Regions from separate parts of the Homo sapiens genome. Here regions 1 and 3 are each linked to region 2. The links are contacts of gene promoters, found by promoter capture Hi-C in blood cells and fetal thymus (Javierre and others, 2016). All regions are on one chromosome and are shown on one strand. The core of a region is centred on a gene start or on the middle of the fragment in contact, and the rest is flanking DNA. Distances in the headings are between cores, read along the strand shown. Region 1 overlaps LOC124903193 (a long non-coding RNA gene). Region 2 holds the start of TGDS (TDP-glucose 4,6-dehydratase). Region 3 has its middle 57 kb from the start of CLDN10-AS1.

The links. The method cuts DNA at HindIII sites, captures the fragments that hold promoters and counts their contacts. A CHiCAGO score of 5 or more calls a contact.
Region 1: a contact is called between a fragment that was not itself captured here and the fragment with the promoter of TGDS in region 2, in 1 of 17 cell types (non-activated CD4 T cells). The highest score is 5.5, in non-activated CD4 T cells.
Region 3: a contact is called between a fragment that was not itself captured here and the fragment with the promoter of TGDS in region 2, in 1 of 17 cell types (naive CD8 T cells). The highest score is 6.2, in naive CD8 T cells.

The regions. Positions count from the first base shown.
Region 1 is chr13:95,390,308-95,393,007 of GRCh38, reverse strand. All of the region lies in intron 1 of LOC124903193 (a long non-coding RNA gene), which reads left to right. Among named protein-coding and RNA genes, the nearest start is that of ABCC4, 90 kb to the right of the region's middle. The HindIII fragment of the contact is 5,449 bases long and covers 1-2,700 here.
Region 2 is chr13:94,594,752-94,597,451 of GRCh38, reverse strand. TGDS (TDP-glucose 4,6-dehydratase) reads left to right here and starts at 1,300. Exons shown (of 12, transcript NM_014305.4): 1 at 1,300-1,401. The coding sequence starts at 1,316. RefSeq lists an enhancer at 1,127-1,436. The HindIII fragment of the contact is 5,991 bases long and covers 1-2,700 here.
Region 3 is chr13:95,475,385-95,478,084 of GRCh38, reverse strand. It overlaps a transcript of CLDN10 not described here. Among named protein-coding and RNA genes, the nearest start is that of CLDN10-AS1, 57 kb to the left of the region's middle. The HindIII fragment of the contact is 4,663 bases long and covers 1-2,700 here.

The DNA.
Region 1 (2,700 bases), core at 21-2,520, 800 kb before region 2:
CTGGGAGGTGGAGATGGCAGTGAGCCCTGATTGCACCACTGCACTCCAGCCTGGGCAACAGAGCAAGATTCTGTCTCAAAAAAAAAAAAAGTAAGTAAATAAATAAATTACCCAGTCTCAGGTATTTCTTTATAGCGATGTGAGAACAGACTAATGCAACTGGAGTAGGGAGGTGCCTAATCCAGTATGCTTGGTATCCCTATAAGAGGGAACTTTGGACCTAGATACACACAGGGAAGATGATACAATGGAACAGGAAGAAGATGCCCAAGTGAAGATGAAAGCAGAGACTGGAATGAGGCATCTACAATCTAAGAAACAGAGAGATGCTAGAAACCAGGAGACGCAAGGACCTCCCCTGTAGATTTTAGAGAAAGTGTCGTCCTGCTGACACCTTGAGCTCAGGCTTTTAGCCCCCAGAAATGGGAGATAATTCTCTGTTGTTTCTTTTGTTTGAGACAGTGCCTTGCTCTGATACTCAGGCTGGAGTGCAGTGGCCTGGTCTCAGCTCATTGCAACCTCCACCTCCCAGGCTCAAGCAATCCTGACACCTCAGCCTCCCAAGTAGATGGGACTACAGGTAAATGCCACCACACCTGGCTAGTTTTTATTTGTATTTTTTGTAGAGACAGGGTTTTGCCATGTTACCCAGGCTGGTCTCTGTTGTTTTAAGCCATCCAAGTGTTTGGTATTTTCCTACAGCAGCCACAGGAAAAGGATACAACCTTCATTGATCTGCAGAGACATGGGTCTATGCCTTCCGTGGTTGACCTAAACCATGATCAGTAGGAAGGCCATACAGAGCAACACATGGAGGGAGTGGGGGTAAGGGAGGGAGTGAAGATGGGAAGGCCAAGAATAAAAATTCTCCAGGTGATGGATGGATCCACTCCAATGTGAACATCAGCAGCACAGGAGTCTGATGACTCCAGCAGGGTTTGGAGGTCCTGAGGCTATGCCAGCTTCTGGGGACCAGGTGGTGTGTGTCTTGGTGCCTGCATGCCTCCCTCTCTCCACCACATCCCGTCAGCGCTCCTCATGCCCACCACAACCAGGTCTGGGCCCCTTGACTGTGCAAGATGGCATGTTACTAACCACACTTAGAATGAAGTTTAAGCTGACAGGCACATGCATAACATCACATTGATCATATGGGAGTTTTACAATGTGAATTGCAGACATCAGGATAAGGGAGGAAGGGGATGGGGGTGCATGTGAAGGCTTGAGGAGAGAAGAAAAGGCCTGAGAGAATTACTTTAGGGAGTGGGAGAGTGAACTTATTAGTGAAGCATTGTACAATTTCTGGCTACTTAAAGCCCATGTAAAGTTTATGACTGTGTTTCTAAATAAGATCAGTCTGCCCAGATGGGTGAATTTTTCATTAAAGTTCATCTGCAGGCGTGGACACAGTGGAGTTGCTGTTACGTAGAATTGGGTTTTTCTTCCAGAGGGAAAGAGAGGAAGTTGAGAGTGTTTGCCAGGGAGTGATTATAACTCTGGGTTGCAAAATCCTGGCTGGACACTGTAGAATGAGATGATGGATTAATGAAGAGACATCTCAATGAGGCCCAAGAATTGTCCCTGTGGGTACCCAGGCACAGTAGCTCATGCCTGTAATCCCAGCACTTTGGGAGGCTGAGGTGGGTGGATCACAAGGTCAAGAGATCGAGACCATCCTGGCCAACATGGTGAAACCCCATCTCTACTAAAAATACAAAAATTAGCTGGGCGTGGTGGCGAGTGCCTGTAGTCCCAGCTACTCAGGAGGCTGAGGCAGGAGAATTGCTTGTACCTGGAAGGCAGAGGTTGCAGTGAGCTGAGATTGTGCCATTGCACTCCAGCCTGGCAACAGAGCGAGACTCCATCTCAAAAAATAAAATGAAATAAAAAAATTAAAAAGAATTGTTCTTGTAGGTATCCTGGAGCAAATAAATTGGAAGGATAGGAGATGGGATGGAGAAGGAAATGTCTGACTTTGAGATTTCTGAGGTGGCACACTTTCTGGTGATGACAAGATCCAGGGTTTGGCAATGGCATTGGGTGGCTGAGATAGATGGAGTGACAGAAAAGGTTGCTATTGATGAGATGGCTAAGGAAAGGTGGGGCTGGCATGTAAATAGTAGCAGAAATTGGGGCAGAAAGGCAGTCAGGAGTGTACTTTTCAGTGATCGGGGACAGTGTCTGGGAAGCTGCTTGATACAGAAGGCGGAAGGGGAGAGGAGGGTGTAGTTGATGATCTGAGCATTAGGAGAGCTGGGATCATTTTGCAATAAGGAAAGGGAGAGGCCAGGCATGGTGGCTTACCTCTGTAATCCCAACATTTTGGGAGGCCAAGGAGAGATTTCTTGAGCCCATTAGTTCGAGACTAGCCTGGGCAACATAATAAGACCCCGTCTACAGAAAAAAAAAAAAAGAGCTGGGCATTGTGGCATATTATACCAACCCCCTGACTTTTTTCTGAGCTTTTTCCTTTTTCCACATTTACATATCCACACTAACAGGTTATATGGTATCCATGTAAGAAAAGGGAAATTTGAACCCAACACACACGGACAGAAGGTGATGCAATGAAACAGGAAGAAAATGCCCATGTGAAGATGAAGGCAGAGAGGAGGCACATGCCTGTAGTCCCAGCTACTTGGGAGGCTGAGGTGGGAGGATCGCTTGAGCCTGGGAGGTCGAGGCTGGAGTGAGCCATGA
Region 2 (2,700 bases), core at 51-2,550:
GAGCTCGCTATTTTAATTGTGGTGGTCAATAGGATGCCATTCAAGCTGAAAACGGAAGTAAGGGTAAAAACTAGGCAGACATCTGGGGAAAGACAATCAAGGTCCCGGGGAAGTAGCATGCCTGGCACATTGAATGAAGAGCAAGGAGGGTGGGGAGGCTGGGGCGGAGTGAGCAAAGGAGAGAATAGAATAAGACATCAGCGTAGGACCTAGGGAATATCTTTATCATGATTGCAAGCCTTCTGCGCTGTCTGTAATAATAATATTATTATTTTTTGAGACGGAGTTTTGCTGTTGTTGCCCAGGCTGGAGTGCGATGGTGCGGTCTCGGCTCACTGCAACCTCTGCCTTCCGGGTTCAAGCAATTCTCCTGCCTCGGCCTCCCAAGTAGCTGGGATTACAGGCGCCCGCCACCACGCCCGGCTAATTTTTGTATTTTTAGTAGAGACAGGGTTTCACCATGTTGGCCAAGCTGGTCTCGAATCCTGACCTCAGGTGATCCGCCCACCTCGGCCTCCCAAAGTCCTGGGATTACAGGCGTAAGCCACGGCGCCCGGCCTGAAATAATATTAACAACAGCAAAAGATCATTTTGCAGGCCAGGCACGGTGCTCACGCCTGTAATCCCAGGACCTTGGGAGGCTGAGGCGGGAGGTTGGCTAGATCCCAGGAGTTCGAGACCAGCCTGGACAACAGGGCGAAACCCATCTCTACCAAAAATTAGGCGGGCGTGGTGGCGCACGACTGTATTCCTAGCTACTCAGGAGGCTGAGGTGGGAGGATTGCTTGAGCCCCATTGGTCGACGCTGCAGTGAGCCGTGATCGCACCACTGCACTCCAGCCTGGGTAACAGAGGGAGACCCTGTCCCCGCCCCACTAAAAAAAAAAATCATTTTTAAATTGCAACCTCCCATCTCCATCTGCAACAACTCCCCGTTCTCAGCTCAACTGATAGGTAACCTCTAGAGATGGCTGTAGTACAAGAATGAAAAAAGGTACTCATTCATAAATCTGATCCATAGTGGTGGCATTTCCGGGAAAAACGTTCCATACCCCTACCATCCGGGCGACCCCAATTGCACCTGGCGGACCAGGCAAGGGCGGAAAGGAGCAGCGCCTGCGCGTGGTGAGCGCGGCCCCGCCCAGCCCGCTAGTGGGCGGGCAGAAACTGGCCACAGAGCAGTCTCCGGAAGCTGCCTCTGGCTGCTCTGTTAACGTGTCCCGCGAGCGAGGCGCGTCGCAAAAGGTCGCGGCGGAACTTCCCTGCGCTTTTCAGACCATACTCTTTACGGTACTAGGCACTGCTGAGCTGGGAGATGTCGGCGGCGTGTTGGGAGGAACCGTGGGGTCTTCCCGGCGGCTTTGCGAAGCGGGTCCTGGTGACCGGCGGTGCTGGTTTCATGTAGGTAATGGCGCCGCTAGCCAAGCAGTGGCTCCCCAGAAACCCCTACCTTTTCCCGCAGCTCTGCTTGCCCTAGGTAATTTGGGTCCAGCTTTGAGGGGTCCTTATTCTGATATGGGGAGGGTCCTAATGCACGACCTGGACCAGCTTTTCTCTCTCTGGCCTGCAAAGAAGTGGTTCCTTTGAAACTGACTTCTTTAAAACGCCTCTTCCAAAGCTGCGTTACTCTCCGCCCTTCTGTGGCCGGAGGTGCTCACCATGTCACTCCTTGAGTGCGTGCAAGTTACCCTAAGCTGCTCACCGACTGCTTCCCACCTCCAGCCTAGAGCACCCACACCCCACGATGGGCCCTGTACATATAGGCACCCCCAAAACGATTTAAGGACTATAATAGGACATCTATGTAATCAGCAAACTTTTACAAATCCACTGTTGACACCCTTTTCTTCCTCAGACCCACATTCGAGCAGCAAGTCCTCTCTACTTCCAAAGTATATCCTTACGGCGACCACTTCTCACCAGTTTCCCGTTTCCACCCTAGCCCATGTTTACTGTCATCTTTTGCCTCGACTGCTGCTGTAGCCTCTTGGTTGGCCATAACTGCGTCCACTCATGTTCCTTTAAAGCCTGTTGCTCACATACAAGTCAGTGTTTCTTAAGTCAATCAGATCATGGTAGAAGCAGGATTTTACTTCAGTGGTTCCTGCCACACTTAAGAATAAAGCCCAAACTCTACCATATCTAGAAAACTCAAGTGCCCAAGCCCTACTTTTGCAACCTGATCTGCTTTTCTGTACCTGCCATGCTTCCCCTCTTAGTTCTTGGAACACACCAAGATACACACTTCTGTCTTGAGGCCTTTGCACTTGCTTCCCCTTTCCTTAGGCTGTTTGCACCACTCAATTCTGGTTTTTATTCAGATAGCACCTCAGAGAGTTCTTACCTGACCACCATATCTAAAATAGCCCCTCTCCCAACTAGCACACTTAACCTCTACCTGAAATTATATTGCGGATTTGTGTCTGCTTGTTTATTGCTTGTATCCCCACTCTAAAATGCAAACTCGGTAAGGACAGAGACTACTGTTCATTCAGCACCTGGAAGAATGCCTGGCCCATTCTATATAAGTCTTTAGTAATTGTGGAATGGATGAATGCAAGAGTAATAAACAGGAAACTCTCCTATCCTCCCCTCAAGGAACTCAGTGGCTAGTGGAAGAAGTGGGAATGTGAGGATTCCTGTTTATGGCCATTTGCACATTAAATCACCCCTTCTAATCCGACAAGTCATTTGGGGGAG
Region 3 (2,700 bases), core at 124-2,623, 880 kb before region 2:
ATCTGCCAGCCTCAGCCTCCCAAAGTGCTGGAATTATAGGCATGAGCCACTGTGCCTGGCCTCCAGAGCTTTTTAAAACACAACAGGTGATTCCAATTTGCAGCCAATTTTGAGAACCACTGTTTTAGGCAAAAGATCTCATTTCTTTTCACATGAAAGCTGGCTTTCATTGTTAGAGGACTCCTCCAAGAAGCCTCCCTAACGAACCACACGTTTTCCTCCTCCTCCTCCATCTGTCCACGGGCCTGTCTGCAGCTGATGCCAGTACTTATCATGGCTTAAGATACATATGGGTTACCTGAGGGTGTTGCAGATTCAGATTCGTTCAGTCTGGGGTGAGGGGTTGAGACGCTGCCTCTCTAAGTCCCAGGTGCTGCTGGTCCACAGACCATCCACAGTAGGGTTGGCAGGACATCAACCTGTGTTTCCGCATGTGCACCTTTGCAGTTGTTCTCTGTTTTGCATTCCTTTTCTGCTTCTGTATTAACCATGTTTCTCCTTTCTGTAAACCTGATGCTTTAACATCTGCCCCGCGTGCATCTGCAGGACACACCTTGCTCTGTGCAACCCAATAATATGTCTCCCTCACTGTCCCCCTCCCCCTGGAAGGAGTCCTCCGGGTGATATGCTTTTCAAATGAAAACCAACCCAGAGCTCGCATCCCAACCAATTCCCTTATCTGGCTCTCACACTCCAGGCCACTATCCCCCTGCCCTAATCACCCAGGACCAGGTATCTGACAAATAGGAACAGCCTGTATGCCCCAGAGCCTGCTGAAATGATTTAAACTAGCCAGTCCTGAGCTAGCTAACCCTGCCTTGCCCACTCTTTCCTGTGGAAACCATAATAAGGGCTCTGGCCACGTTCTCTTCTCCCTCTGCCTCTTGACCAGCCCTCGTGCTGCCCCGGGTGTCCCTGCATGGCGTGGCGTGCCCACTTCTCTTAGATCTGAGAGTAAGAAACTCTCTCTTCAGTGAGAGTCATCATCTGATCTATTGGCCTCACCAAAGCTGAATAAAATTAAAACCTATTAGAGCAACTCCCCTGCTAGGAGGAGAGGCGTGGCTGGTTCCCAACTTGTCTGCATCCCGCCTCTCCTCCCAGTCTTGCTTGGGTCCCTGCTATGCTGCTCATGGTATGAACACAAGACCCTGTACACACACAGAAAAGAGCACAATCAGTGACTGTTGAATGAATAAGTGAACAAATGTAGGGAGAAAAATTCTGAACTTGGAGACCTGGCTCTGCCACTAACAGCTGTGAGAGATTGTGAAGGTGCCCCCGAGACTCAGTGACTTCATCTGTCCTGTTATTTCATAGTGAGGCCACCTGAGCAATATGTGTTAAAGCCCCTTTTCATCCACATGGTAGCATCCTCCTTTCTCTCTCCATCTCCTACTTGTCACTGGTGTTCAGGGTTCCAGCCTTGCCCTTCACACACTGCCTGGGAGGTCCCATCTGTTTCTGAGTCTTTGAATCTTCACCCACAGCTGCTATGGTCTGAATATCTGTGTCCCTCCAAAATTCACACGTTGAAATCCAAATGCCCAAGGTGATGGCGTTGGGAGGTGGGGCCTTCGGGAGGTGATTAGATCTTGAGGGTGGAGCCCCCATTAATGGGATTAGTGCCCTTATACAGAAGGCTCCGGAGAGCTGCCTCACTTCTGCCACCACGTGAGGACACAGAGAGAAGACTCACCTGTGAATCAGAAAGCAGCCCTCACCGGACACCAAATCCATCAGCACCTTGACCTTGGACTTACTTCCCACCCTCCAGAACCGTGGGAAATACATTTCTGTTGTCTATGAGTTACCCGATCTAAGGCATTTTGTTATAGCAGCCTGAACAGACTAAGACACCAGCTCAGGCTCCCCTCTTGAGCTCCACACACGTCTAACCAAATGCCGACAATCCATCTCTATCCTGTCAACCTGCCTGTAAGTCATATTTGACACATTCAAAATCGAGTTTATCATGCCTTTGCGCCTCCCAAACCAGCTCCTCCCCTCATATGTCCTATCACCACAAGTGCCCAGAAGGGGAGTGGCACACGGAAGGAAGCAATCTGGGCGATGGGGGTGGAATTAGATGGCAGAGATTTGTGACAAGCATAGAAGACCACCCAGCACGCTCAGGGGCAGCATCAATCATAAGTCACATCACAGCAGAGCCATGGTGCTCATCACAGCAGAGCCATGGTGCTCAAGTCCCGACAGGGAGAGAGGGTGAGGGAGAGAGAGAGAGAGAGGGAAAGAGGGAGAGAGAGGGACAGAGAGAGACAGAGAGAGAGAGAGAGATGCAGGGACCCTCGACCCATGCAGGTGGGCTTGGGATCATGAGAGCACATGAGGATAGACCCCAGGCTGGCTTCACTGAGACGCCACCCAGAGAAAGGCAGCTGGAGGATGAGGTGGGAATGGAGCCCTTGCCACCTTCCTGGAGCTCCAAGCCAGTCACCCTCACCAGGGGCCCAGAGGCCATTGGGGCAAACAGCACTGAAACTCTTTCAAACCCTGCTGGCCACTTCCCTCCCTTGGGGAGCAGCAGAGAAGCCCACTGGTGGCCAGTGCTCAGTCAGCACAGCTGAGGTGGGCTGGCAAAACTCCTGGCTCTCTCTGTCTCCGAGAATTGGCTGGGGCATCTGATGGTGGTTGCAGAGCCTCATCTCCCCTCTCTTGAACTTAGCGGAGATCAGGCTC